Linked DNA regions of Homo sapiens: all the other regions are linked to region 4. The links are contacts of gene promoters, found by promoter capture Hi-C in blood cells and fetal thymus (Javierre and others, 2016). All regions are on one chromosome and are shown on one strand. Each heading gives the region's core, a stretch centred on a gene start or on the middle of the fragment in contact. The rest is flanking DNA. Distances are from core to core; before and after follow the strand shown. Region 1 has its middle 3.1 kb from the start of HS6ST1. Region 2 overlaps HS6ST1 (heparan sulfate 6-O-sulfotransferase 1). Region 3 overlaps HS6ST1 (heparan sulfate 6-O-sulfotransferase 1). Region 4 holds the start of PTPN18 (protein tyrosine phosphatase non-receptor type 18).

Region 1 (2,700 bases), core at 179-2,678, 2.0 Mb before region 4:
ATCCTCGTGCTACATCATAATTAAGGCTGCTCTTTTGGAGACCTGCTGGGTGCCAGGCATTGTAGAGGTGTCATTTCCAATTCCATCAGCAAATCTGCGGGGGTAGGCTGTGATATCCATTTACAGAAGAGAAAACTGAGGTTCAAAGGGGTTAAGACCCTGGTTCCAAGGTCAACCACTCTCACCCCATGAGAGTCAGCAGAGCTGGGATCCTGATTCCTGCTGTGAGCCCCAGAACCCTCCCCTTCCCCACCTCTGCACTTGCCCCAGCTCCCTAGGCCAGGGATGAGAGCGTCTACAGGGGCCACTCCTGAGAGCCTGGTGACCGTCACTGCCACCAAGGGGGAACGTGGGCCCAGAGTGTTCAAGGGAAAGCTGGAGCAGCTCCGAAGGCCAACGAAGCCATCGGTACTTGGGCCATGGCTCCACCCTGTGATGATCTCACTGTCCCAAGGGGGAAACTGAGGCCCAGGCAGGGACGAAGTGCCTGTGATAAGGTCCCACCCTTGAATGGGAGCCAGAGCAGCCTGACCCATGGAGCAACATCTCCCAGAACAAGCTATTTAATCCAACTTCATACCTGCCACACTGGCTGATGGGAAGCACTCACATTAGCCAGGAAGCCCTTTCTTTCTAGAATTCTTTTAAGAGGAGGGAAATCTGCCTGGCTGGCTACAGGACTTTGCTCAGTCTTCCACTTTGATTGAAGCCCTGCACAGGCACCTGAGACCCTAAGGCTGTAGGTGAGTTTCTGGGCTCTGAAAGTCAAGTCAGATGAGCCACCCATCAATCAGTGGACACTTGAGCCGAGTGGAAGGCAGCTCGAGCCCTCGTTGGCGGGGCAGCTTGCATCACGCTACTCCCCACCACTTCCCGCTACTCCCCGCGATGAGTCCTCAGTGTCATGTCTTGGAAAATGGATAGAAACGCACAGTCTGGGGCTGGCGTGGGGTTCCAGGAGGTCAGCGGACACAGCCAGGGTCTCAGGAGGCGCGCTCTGCGCGCTGTTTCCTTTCTTCCCTGGGTGATCTCCTGCGTGGCCAAGGTTTGCCCCAGCCCCGAGAGTGCATATGAGCTAAGTGTTTGCTAGGGGCAGCTTCTGGCCCTGACTGCTTGTGGGGTCCAAGGAAAAGCACTGGCAGCTCTTCTGCTCAGTGGCTTTGTCCCCTGAAGATCCACTTCACCAATTCTTTAATGCGTGATCTCTGACTTAATGGCAAAGAAAAGTAAAAGAACACGGCTTAGTGGCAGGCTGTGATGATCCCAGAAGAGGCATTAACATTCGGCTTCAGGAATGAAGCCTCATTCCCGGCCCACCGTGCGGTCTCAGAGTCTGAGAACCACGAGATCAACAGCGGCGCCCCCTCCCGGCGCACAGTCCCGCGGACGGCCGCGCGGGGGCAGCACGCGGCCCGGCCCCCGAGCGCCCGCGGTTGACTTTGCAAAAAATTGGGGGATTTTCCACACTCGCTTCCCTCGTCGTTCGTCCGGCGGCCGCCCATTGTTGTTTGCCAAGGGGTGGAGGAGGGCAGTCGTGTCTGTCCTCAGAGCCTCCCGTGGGGCTGGCCCCGCTGCCCACGCGGGGCAGAGAGAGGGGTTTCGTTTGGGGACAAACTTTTAGAGGGGACTCCGGCTCGCGCGGACCCGCGGGGCCCGGCCCCGGCCCCGACCCCGACCCGGCGGCAGGCTTGGGGCGCCGGGCTGCGCGCCGTGGACGCCACCTTCTCCGAGGTCGCCAGGCCCCGTCCGCAGCCGCCTCCTCCAGGGAGCCCGCGGCCCCTTTGCCGCCCAGCGGCCCCGTGCCGGGCTCCTCCCCCAGCACCGCGGGGCGCCTGGGCTCCCAGGCAGCCCGCAGACGCGGCAGGTCTTCCCAGGACCCGAGGGACGCGCTCCGGCCGCTGCCCGGGGACAGCAGGGGTCCTGCGGTTCGGTTCGAGGACCGCGCTGGAAGAGGCCCGGGGCTTCGGAAGGGCCATTCCCCTCCCTCCACGCCCGCCCAGGGCCTCGCTGTTCTTTGTGCCCTTTCTCTAGGCCCTCCAGGCCCGCTTCAGTCCTTAGGGGAAGAGGGTAGGATAAACAGAAGAGGAGAACCTGAGCAATTCGTAGGGGCAGCGTGGTCCTGGGCTTCCCCGGCCCTTGCCCGCCCCCCCCGCCCTGCTGGCTCGGTGACCTCCCCCTGGCTGGCCCCCTGCCCTCGCGTGTGACGTGGGGTTGTTGGCAAGTGGGGGGCTTGGACTGCTGCCTGGCCGGGATTCGGAGTCTGTCCAGTGGAGCCCACCCTCCTCCCCGGGCAGCGGGACTGTGGGCAGGCCTGGCGGGTTCTGCCAGCTTGGGAGGCAGGACAGGGACCTGGTAACGTTGCCCCAAGGGCATCGTCCTGGTTCTTCTGCTTGAAACTTCCCAAGGGACATGTCTTTAGACGACTAGGGTGGAGGCGGGATCACAGCCTGGATGGGGTGGGGGGTGACTGCTCGCAGCTTCCGGTGGCCAGTGGGTCTCCTCCCAGATGGCTGTCATTCACTGCCCAGAGGGGTTCCGACTCGGCCGGGTCGGGGGAGCCACCAGAGAGGGCACTGAGCAGCTTGACAAGCTCCACTGTTGGGGATGTTCCCTGGGGGTGGGGTGGGGTGGATGGCGGCTCTTTTGAGGGTGAAATGTTCTAGTCCGAGAAAAGTCACTCAACCATGGGGTGCTTGCTGC
Region 2 (2,702 bases), core at 56-2,555, 2.1 Mb before region 4:
ATCTTCTTGCCCTTGGACATCAGAACTCCAGGTTCTCGGGCCTTTGGGCTCTGGGACCTAACACCACAGCCCCCAGGTTCTCAGGCCTTTGGCCTTGGACTAAGCCTGCTCGCTGGCTTCCCTGGTTCTCCAGCTTGCAGATGGCAGATCTCGGGTCATCTTAGTCTCCCTAATTGCATAAGCCTATTCCCCCAATAAATCCTCTTTCACCTGTCTCTATATATCCTATAAGTTCTGTCCCTCTGGAGAACCCTAATATAGCTCCCCCTCCCCGACCCCTACGCTGGGGGATGCTGCCAGCCATGCTCGTCCTCTTGAAGTGTGTCCGAGCCTTTAGAAACTGGGTCTCCCTGTGTGGGTGCTCCCCAGGGACAGAGATGGTGCATGGTACAGGCCTGGTGAGAGGAGGGCCTCTAGCCCCTCAGGACCAGGACCACTGCCTGGGCACTAAGCTGTCTTTGGCTAAGGGGCAGGAGGACGAAACAAGTACCTGTCACAGACTGTAAGGCCCTGGCATCCCTCGGAGGCTGCCTTGCTAATGGACAGCTGCACAGGACTCCAGAAAGGTCCCTGGGTTGGCTGGTGACCTCTGCCCGTGGGTCCCCTCTCGGGAGAGCCCAGCACTGCAGCAATGCACACAGCCGCTGTAGTCAGATGCTGGCCAAAAACCCTCTGCCACTGGGAAGATATGGAGGCACCCATGTACCAGAGAACAGGGACAGTGACACTGTGTCCCATCAGAGTGCTCACAGCAGTGTCGCACAGCAGTGGCAGCCCTCACTGGGTCAGTGAGAGGACCCACCCTGGAGCACTCAGCATCTCATGACACTCAGGAATGGCTACCTTCCTCTCCTGCAGCTGGGCTGGGCTGCACTGGGGAGGGCGGGTGACTGAGCACCCACACACACTTGCAGGCCATCATCCCCTGGCTCTGTGGCAACCCATGGAACATGGTCCCCAGGGCCTTCCTGGTGGCCCAGGGCAGTGCCTGTGATCTGTGTGGAATGCACAGGGTCAGTGTCATGCAGGAGGCAGCTCCCTGCTATGAGGGCCTCCTAAGCTCTCCATTCTGGATTCTCCAGCCTTTGCTGGCCTGACCCATTGCCTGCCTGGGTCCCCATTTGACCCACTTGCTGAAGGATGGGGGTTTGCTCCTGTCCTGGAACAGCCACACCAATCCCAATACCTGCCTTTTACCCACTTGGCTGAAACCTGACACCCCTCTACTTTGTAAGAATGATGTTCTCTGCTGGGAACGTTGCCAGCCCAGCTTCCAGGAAAGCAGAGTAACAAACCCCTCCTTGCTGGGCCTGGCTTCCCGATGGGCCTGCTTGGACAGTTTTAAAGCATGACTTGGGAGGCCTGAACTTTTGCAGGGTTCAGGACGTGTGCCGACAAGCGGCCCTGCCTGGACTTGCGTGAGCTAAACCAACTGCTCAGACCTGCTCACCTTCCTGCCTGCCAGGAGGGAACAGAGGCAGAAGAGGAGGGGCCGAGCCCCTCCAACCGGGAGCCCTGGGGTCTGCAGTGGGCGGGAAGGAAGGAGGCTGTGGCAAGGGTTGGAGCCCGGCTGGCTGAGGCCCTTGTTCTCCAGGCAGAGCTGGAACCCACTCTCACTCTGGGGCCTACCTTCTCCCCGGCTTAGTGCCTGGGCAGAGCCTCTCCTTACGGGTGACATCACAACCCTCTCAACTCCCCCGGGAGACCATCTGCTCTGCCTGCCCTTGATCCTCTCAGGGGAGCTGAAGCATCACACCTGGTGACAGCTGCTTCCAGCAGGCCACTCATTCAGCTGGACCTTGAGGAGGGTGGGCCAGCAGTCCCTCAGGACCTGCCCAGGTTCCCTGCACCATCCTGGACTCCCTGGCGAGCCCACCTGCTCGCAGAGCAGCTGCGTTACCCTCCCAGAGGCAGGCACTGTGGCGGACATGAGCCACACGCCTGGCTCCCCCACTCTGGGGAGTGACCTGCCTGCGACTTGTCACTGGGAGGAGTTTGGGGGAAATCCTGCAGGCACAGGCCTGTGTGTGAATCCCAGCTCTGCCACCGGTGACCTTAGGTGATGAGTTATTTAGGCTCTTTGAGTCTCAGTTTACTCATCTGCAAAACAGCGCCCCTGACAGTGAGGCCTGAATGAGACTGTCACAGCCCCTCCCTGCTCCCAGACTGCACCCTCGGGACAGGAATGCCCTCCTTTGTGCCTCCGCTCCTCAGCAGGGCTAGCACGCTGGTGTCACTCCACAGGACAGTGCCTTCCCTGGCTTTCCCTCCATCAACTGTGGTCGGGCTGGAGGACGTGGCCGCGCCGCTGCGAAGATTTCTCTGCCAGGGAATGTGGACCAGGATTCCAGGGAGAACGCAGCTGCACGCTCCACAGCCTGGCTCCCTGCTCCAGGACGACACCCCCACCCCACCCTGGCCACGATGACGCAAACAGAAAACCTCAGTGCTTACAGATCCCGATCTCCCACGGTCACCAATGCTCTAGAGAGGTAAATATTTACACAGGAGCCTCTAAAGCTCATAACTCAGAGGGGAGATGCTCCCCCTGCCGCCTAGGGGCTGTAAACATTTGTTCCTGCAAGCCCTGCAGCAGAAGGCGCTTTCTAATTCTCAGGTGGATGGTGATGTGTAGGCCCTTCTGTCCCAAGCCAGTGGGGGCATGGCAGCAGGGGTACTGCAAATATGGGGCTGGGGTCACA
Region 3 (2,700 bases), core at 1-2,500, 2.1 Mb before region 4:
AGCTTGCACTGCACGCCCAGGCTTTGCAGGCCATCCAAATGCACGGGTTGGTCAGAAGAGGAAATGAGTTCATGGTTTCAAGGACAGGACACTGCTATTAAATGGTGGGAAAAAGGAAAACTTCTGACCTTGTGTCAAAATACTGACTTGTTAAAAAATAAAAAACAAGAGGCTTTATTAGCGTAGGTTTAGGAAATACCTCCTCAGCCCCTTCCCTAACAACGTCTGCAAGCGGGTGAAAATCTTTGCTGGCTTTACAAACAAGGTCAGCAAAGGTTTCAGAAAACAGAGCAGGCTGCTGGCCACGATACGCCTTGCCTCCTGCAAAGCTGTGCCCACCCAGATAGAGAAACCAAGGCCCCACCTGGTTGCCTGGGGAACAGCATCCCCCAAAGCAGGAGGCCCCTCTGAATGCCTCCTAGGAGCCTGAGACTCCCACCTTCCCCTTGGGGTGGTCGGGGAGCAAGTGACCAGGAAGCAGAGGCCCCACACTGGGGGAAGCCCAAAGCTTTTCCTTCAAAGCCCCCTGACCTGCATGATCTCATTGCGCCCTGACAAGGAACCCTCTGGGGCAGGGGGTGGCTTAGCCATCAGGTGGACACACACTGTGGGGTGCCATGCAGGCCACACCCGCCACACCTCCACAAAGGCACTGATGGGAAGGAAGCGCCCAACCCCTCCTGGTCCCAGGAATGGTCACTCCCATTCCTGACCAGGGCAGTCCCCCTGCAAGAGCACCTCAGTGGATATATCCAGGGCCCAGGGCACTCCCCCAGAGAAGGTGCAGGTGAGGCCCCTTCCCCTGAGATGCACTGCCCAGCTGTGGGCAGGGACAGCTGCCCCCCCTACTCAGTGAGGGTGAACGAGACCCCCAGCAGGTCCCCTGACGGGCTGCTTCTCCAACAGCACTGAAGTGGGGGTGCACAGAGAACTGGGCAGAGAGCCGGGATGTGAGGCTTAGGACTGCCTCCACCTAGCAGGTGTCAGGTAAGGCTGTGACTTCTGGAGGTCCTAGAAGTCACCCCCAGGGTAGGGGCCACAAGAGGAGGTGCTGACAATGTCCTCCCAGCAGGGCCAGCTAGAGACGCCGGGTCCAGGGGTGCTCTGCACCAGCCCTCTTCAATGAGGGGAGAACAGGCGGATGGCTTTCTGGGAGCTTGACCCTGTCCAAAAGCCCAGCATGGCTGTGAGCAGCCCGGGCCCAGATGCTGCTGACTGGACACCTGGAATGGGGCTCTGCCGAGGTCTTCCATGAGCAGAAGGGGTGAGGACCACCTCCTCACCTGTGTCCCACTGCCCTTCAGACTCTCCTGCCTGCTGCTCCAAGGCAGGGCTCCAGCAAGGCCATGAGGGCCCTGCGGGGCTGCTCGCCGGTCATGAAGGCTGCCCATTCATATTTCACACCTGCCTGCCTGGCACTTTCTGGCTTCTGACACCGGCAGGCGAGATGTCACTTATGCCTGAACGCACACACTCATACCTTGGGGTCAGGAGAAGGTGACAGTGCCCTGCTTCTTCACAGGGCACGCAGTCGAGCAGCAGGGCAGCTGACTAGGGGCGGGCTGGCTCGGCCTGAGACCTGTCTCCAGAGCCATGGCCTCCTCTTGTCCTGGCCAAGAGCTCTGGGGCTCACTCCTTCTGCTTCTAGGCCTTTTGCTGAGGCTATTGCGAGGACTCACGTGGCCCTTCCTCTTCCTTACAGCCTGTAACTACACATCCACCATGGCTGCTTGGGCCCACCAAGAGAGACGTGGAGGCCCGAGAGGGAGGCTGGCGGCAGCGTCAGGTCCTGCCGGGGTGTGCAGTATTTGTACCCTGCTATGAAACTGTCCCTGCCAGGTGAGAAAGTGCTCAGGGCCCTGAGGCCAGCCAGCACGACTTGATACCTACGCCCGGTGACTCCATGGCAGTAGAAAAGCACAGCCCTTCTGGGGACTCTGCATTAACACAGAAGCTCATATCTGTGTGCACAATGGGCAAAAGAGCCACATCAAAGCTTGTGGGTACAGCCTGATGCCAACTCTGGAAAACACATCAACTGGAGAGATGGAGCAGAAATGCAACCCGCGCCAGGTGCCCTGGGCCTAGTGCCCTGGGCCATTTTTTCTTTTACTTTTTCTGTATTTTTCCGATTTTATATAACCATGCATGTATTAGAAAACAAACAAACAAACAAAACAATCTAATCTGACTTTCTCACAGGAGGTAGGAGAGTCAGGGAGGCCTGGGAGGCTCAGGGCCTCCCCAGCAGCCTCTCAGGACATCTCCAAAGCCACAGGATCATCACCAGTAATCAGCCTTTCTCGGGGTCAGGAGGGCGAGAGCTCATCTGAGGATCACTGGGGGTGTCCCTGGGACCCCTCCAGGCTCCACCTCCTGCTGACCCCACAGCAACTCATGTCAGGGTCCGAGGCAAAGTCCTGGTTCTCACCCACGACCCCACAGAGCCTCTCTGCAGCGAAGAGGGGCTGACACCTGCTCCCTCAACCCCCGAGTCCATATAAACACAGAGGCGGCCGCGGAGAGATGGCCTTGCATGCTCTTGAATGTAGACTATTCTTCCCCAGACAGGGAAATTCAGAGCCTAAACAGCCCACCCCAGAGATAAGCCATTCTGTGCCCAAGCTAACTGCAGTATCCAACTCTATACTCCCATGGCCCTGGCTCTACTTACAAGGAGGGCGACAGCTCCGGGTGATG
Region 4 (2,700 bases), core at 112-2,611:
CTGCGGACCCCACGATAAATCAAACAGCCCTAGCTGCTGATCCCCACAGAGCCACTTTGATCGCTCCATCACTTCAGCCAAGGTCAGCAAACGACAGCCTGTAGGCCACACACACACACTAGAATAATTCATGACACATGAACATTACATGAAATTCTGATTTCTTTGTCCATAAATGGTTTCTTTGGGACACAGCCACACTATATTGTCTGCTTTCATGCTGCCACAGCTGAGTTAAGCAGCTGGGGCAGCGATAGCAAAGCCAAAACCACTTCCTACCGGGACCTTTAAGAAAGTGTGCCCTTAAATACTCTGATAGCCCCTAGTGAATTAAATTGACCACCTGACATCATGCCCCTGTTGACCCTTCAGAGACTCAGGCACACATCCAGGCCCCAATGCTACCTTTCAACCCCTCAACGACCTCAAACTGGTGTCCACTGACGCCCCTTCCAGTGACACCCCTCTTAATTCTTCCGACCTCGGCGAGAAGGGGGCTAACCTAGGCCTGTCCTTGAAGAGACCCAGGTGCCAGTCCATTCTCTCCAGCCTCCCCTCGGTGATCCCGGAAGCTGGAACGGCGGCTCTCCTCTGACCTCTGCACACTTTCTGAAGATGGGAGTGTCAGGGCAGGCAAAAAAGAGAAGCTCTTCGTTCCCCAGAACCCACTTCCAGTGCCTCAGTTCTGTTTCCCAGCAGGCTTGTGCAGGTCGAGATGCTCACACAGGACTGACCCTGGTGCCCCAGCGCATCCGGGAAAAAGGAACCACAAATTCCTCGGGAAATACACAGAGAAGATCCCGCTGCCACTTGGCCTTTCCCACGGCGTGGCTGCCCCTCCCCGGCCTCCCTTGGGCCCGGCTGGAGCGCACAGCGCGGGACGCCCCCGACCCGGGGTCCTCTGGCACGAGGGGCAGCCTGATCTCGGCGACCGTCTCCACCCAAGGCTGCTGCCCGCCCCAGCTCGGACTCCGCGCGGCCTGGCTCCCAGGGGACGGGCGGGAGGGCCCGGCGAGACCGCTCGGCCGTCCACCCAGAGCCGGCACCCGGAGGTCGGCCCCTGGGCGCGGATCCCGATCTGAGGGCGGGTCCCAAGCGGCAGGGAGCGAACCTGGGACCGTGCCACCCCCCCACCAGTGGGCGCGGCAGCCGAAAAAAAGGGGAAGCGCCGGCGCTGGACTCTGCTCAGGGCAGCCCGCGAGGACCTAGGGCTCCGGCCACAGCGGCCCGAGCGCCCGGGGTGGGGCTACGCGGGCTCAGAACACGGTGGCTGGGGCGCCCTGCCCGCCGCTGCGCGCTTCCATTGGCTGCCGAGGCAAGGGCGGGGACTCAGTCACCGGCCTCCGCCTCCCGCGGCGTCCACACTCGCCGCGCGCGCGGCGGCCGGGCTGGACCTTGCTGGCCCGCGGCGCCATGAGCCGCAGCCTGGACTCGGCGCGGAGCTTCCTGGAGCGGCTGGAAGCGCGGGGCGGCCGGGAGGGGGCAGTCCTCGCCGGCGAGTTCAGCGTGAGTGGCACACGGGGTCCGCGAGCGGCGCGCCCCGGCCCTGGCCCTGCGTACGCCTGTCCTCCGCGCACGGCGGGCTCTGCCTTTCTGTCTCGGTGTCCCCGGTGTCTCCCCGCCTCGGGGGGTCTCTCCGTGTTTCTCTCCCCAGCACTTCTCTGTCGCTCTTGCTGTCTCCGTCTTCACTCTCTGCCCCCCGGCCCCGGAGCGCGACGTCCACGGCCAGGCCGGGACGGACCGTGCACACCCTCGTTCCCGGTGTCCTCGTCGCGCTCCCGGAACAACCTGGCTGCGGGCGGGACAGGTGGGGCGGGCGCCGCAGGGGAGGGCGGGCGGCCCTGCTGCGCTGGACAGCCCCGGCCCCGCCGCTTCTGGCGACCTGACTGTCCCCTGTGACCACAGGAAGGAAGGGGCTGCAGCAGGGCGAAGAGGAACACGGAGGCTGTGGCGTGGTGAGGGTGTGAACGCCGGGCTCGAATCCGCGTCCGGGCCCGAATCCGCTTCCCGTCCCGAATCCGCGTCCCGGCCATCCGCGTGTGGTCCAGGCGGTCTACCTGGCCCCTCTGACCTCGGCTTCTCCCTTGGTGAAATGGGGACATGAATGACCAAACTGGTCTAAGGATTAAATGATGTGGGTGAAAAGCACTTAGTACATATTGGGCGCACACTTCGTAGGGGCGTTCGTCACTGCCTATAAAGATTCTAAACGTGGGCCAGGTGCGGTGGCTCACACCTGTAATCCCAGCACTTTGGGAGGCCGAGGTGGGAGGATCGCTTGAGCTCAGGAGTTCGAGACCAGCCTGGGCAACACAGCGAAACCCCGTCTCTACTAAAAATACAAAAATCAACTGGGCATGGGCGCATGCCTGTAATCCCAGCTACTAGGGAGCAGAGACAGGGGACTCGCTTGAACCTGGGAGGCAGAGGTTGCAGTGAGCTGAGATGGTTCCACTGCACAGCTGAGATGGTGCCACTGCACTCCAGCCTGGGCCACAGAGTGAGATCCCATCTCAAACAAAACAAAACCAAACAAAAAATCTAAACGTTACAATACAGGTAGTGCAAGCCCAGCATTAGGAAGGCTCACGCAGAATGCTAGGCACTGTACATTACAGTTGATGACGTGTTTAAAGTGTAATCGCTTATGTACCAGACATAGAAACATACCATACAAACGCATAAACTGATATATGGTGA

Evidence for each region. The method cuts DNA at HindIII sites, captures the fragments that hold promoters and counts their contacts. A CHiCAGO score of 5 or more calls a contact.
Region 1: a contact is called between a fragment that was not itself captured here and the fragment with the promoter of PTPN18 in region 4, in 8 of 17 cell types (total B cells, non-activated CD4 T cells, naive CD4 T cells and 5 more). The highest score is 13.4, in total B cells.
Region 2: a contact is called between a fragment that was not itself captured here and the fragment with the promoter of PTPN18 in region 4, in 2 of 17 cell types (M0 macrophages and total B cells). The highest score is 10.1, in M0 macrophages.
Region 3: a contact is called between a fragment that was not itself captured here and the fragment with the promoter of PTPN18 in region 4, in 2 of 17 cell types (M0 macrophages and total CD4 T cells). The highest score is 8.4, in M0 macrophages.

What each region holds. Positions count from the first base shown.
Region 1 is chr2:128,320,590-128,323,289 of GRCh38, forward strand. No RefSeq gene overlaps it. Among named protein-coding and RNA genes, the nearest start is that of HS6ST1, 3.1 kb to the left of the region's middle. RefSeq lists silencers at 1,278-1,597, 1,638-1,847 and an enhancer at 2,314-2,700. The HindIII fragment of the contact is 3,262 bases long and covers 1-2,700 here.
Region 2 is chr2:128,304,000-128,306,701 of GRCh38, forward strand. The region is part of intron 1 of HS6ST1 (heparan sulfate 6-O-sulfotransferase 1); the gene reads right to left. Among named protein-coding and RNA genes, the nearest start is that of HS6ST1, 14 kb to the right of the region's middle. The HindIII fragment of the contact is 2,947 bases long and covers 1-2,702 here.
Region 3 is chr2:128,286,523-128,289,222 of GRCh38, forward strand. The region is part of intron 1 of HS6ST1 (heparan sulfate 6-O-sulfotransferase 1); the gene reads right to left. Among named protein-coding and RNA genes, the nearest start is that of HS6ST1, 31 kb to the right of the region's middle. RefSeq lists an enhancer at 1,311-2,140. The HindIII fragment of the contact is 1,488 bases long and covers 507-1,994 here.
Region 4 is chr2:130,354,695-130,357,394 of GRCh38, forward strand. It overlaps PTPN18 (protein tyrosine phosphatase non-receptor type 18), which reads left to right and starts at 1,362. Exons shown (of 15, transcript NM_014369.4): 1 at 1,362-1,506. The coding sequence starts at 1,414. RefSeq lists silencers at 942-1,611, 1,752-1,801. The HindIII fragment of the contact is 15,291 bases long and covers 1-2,700 here.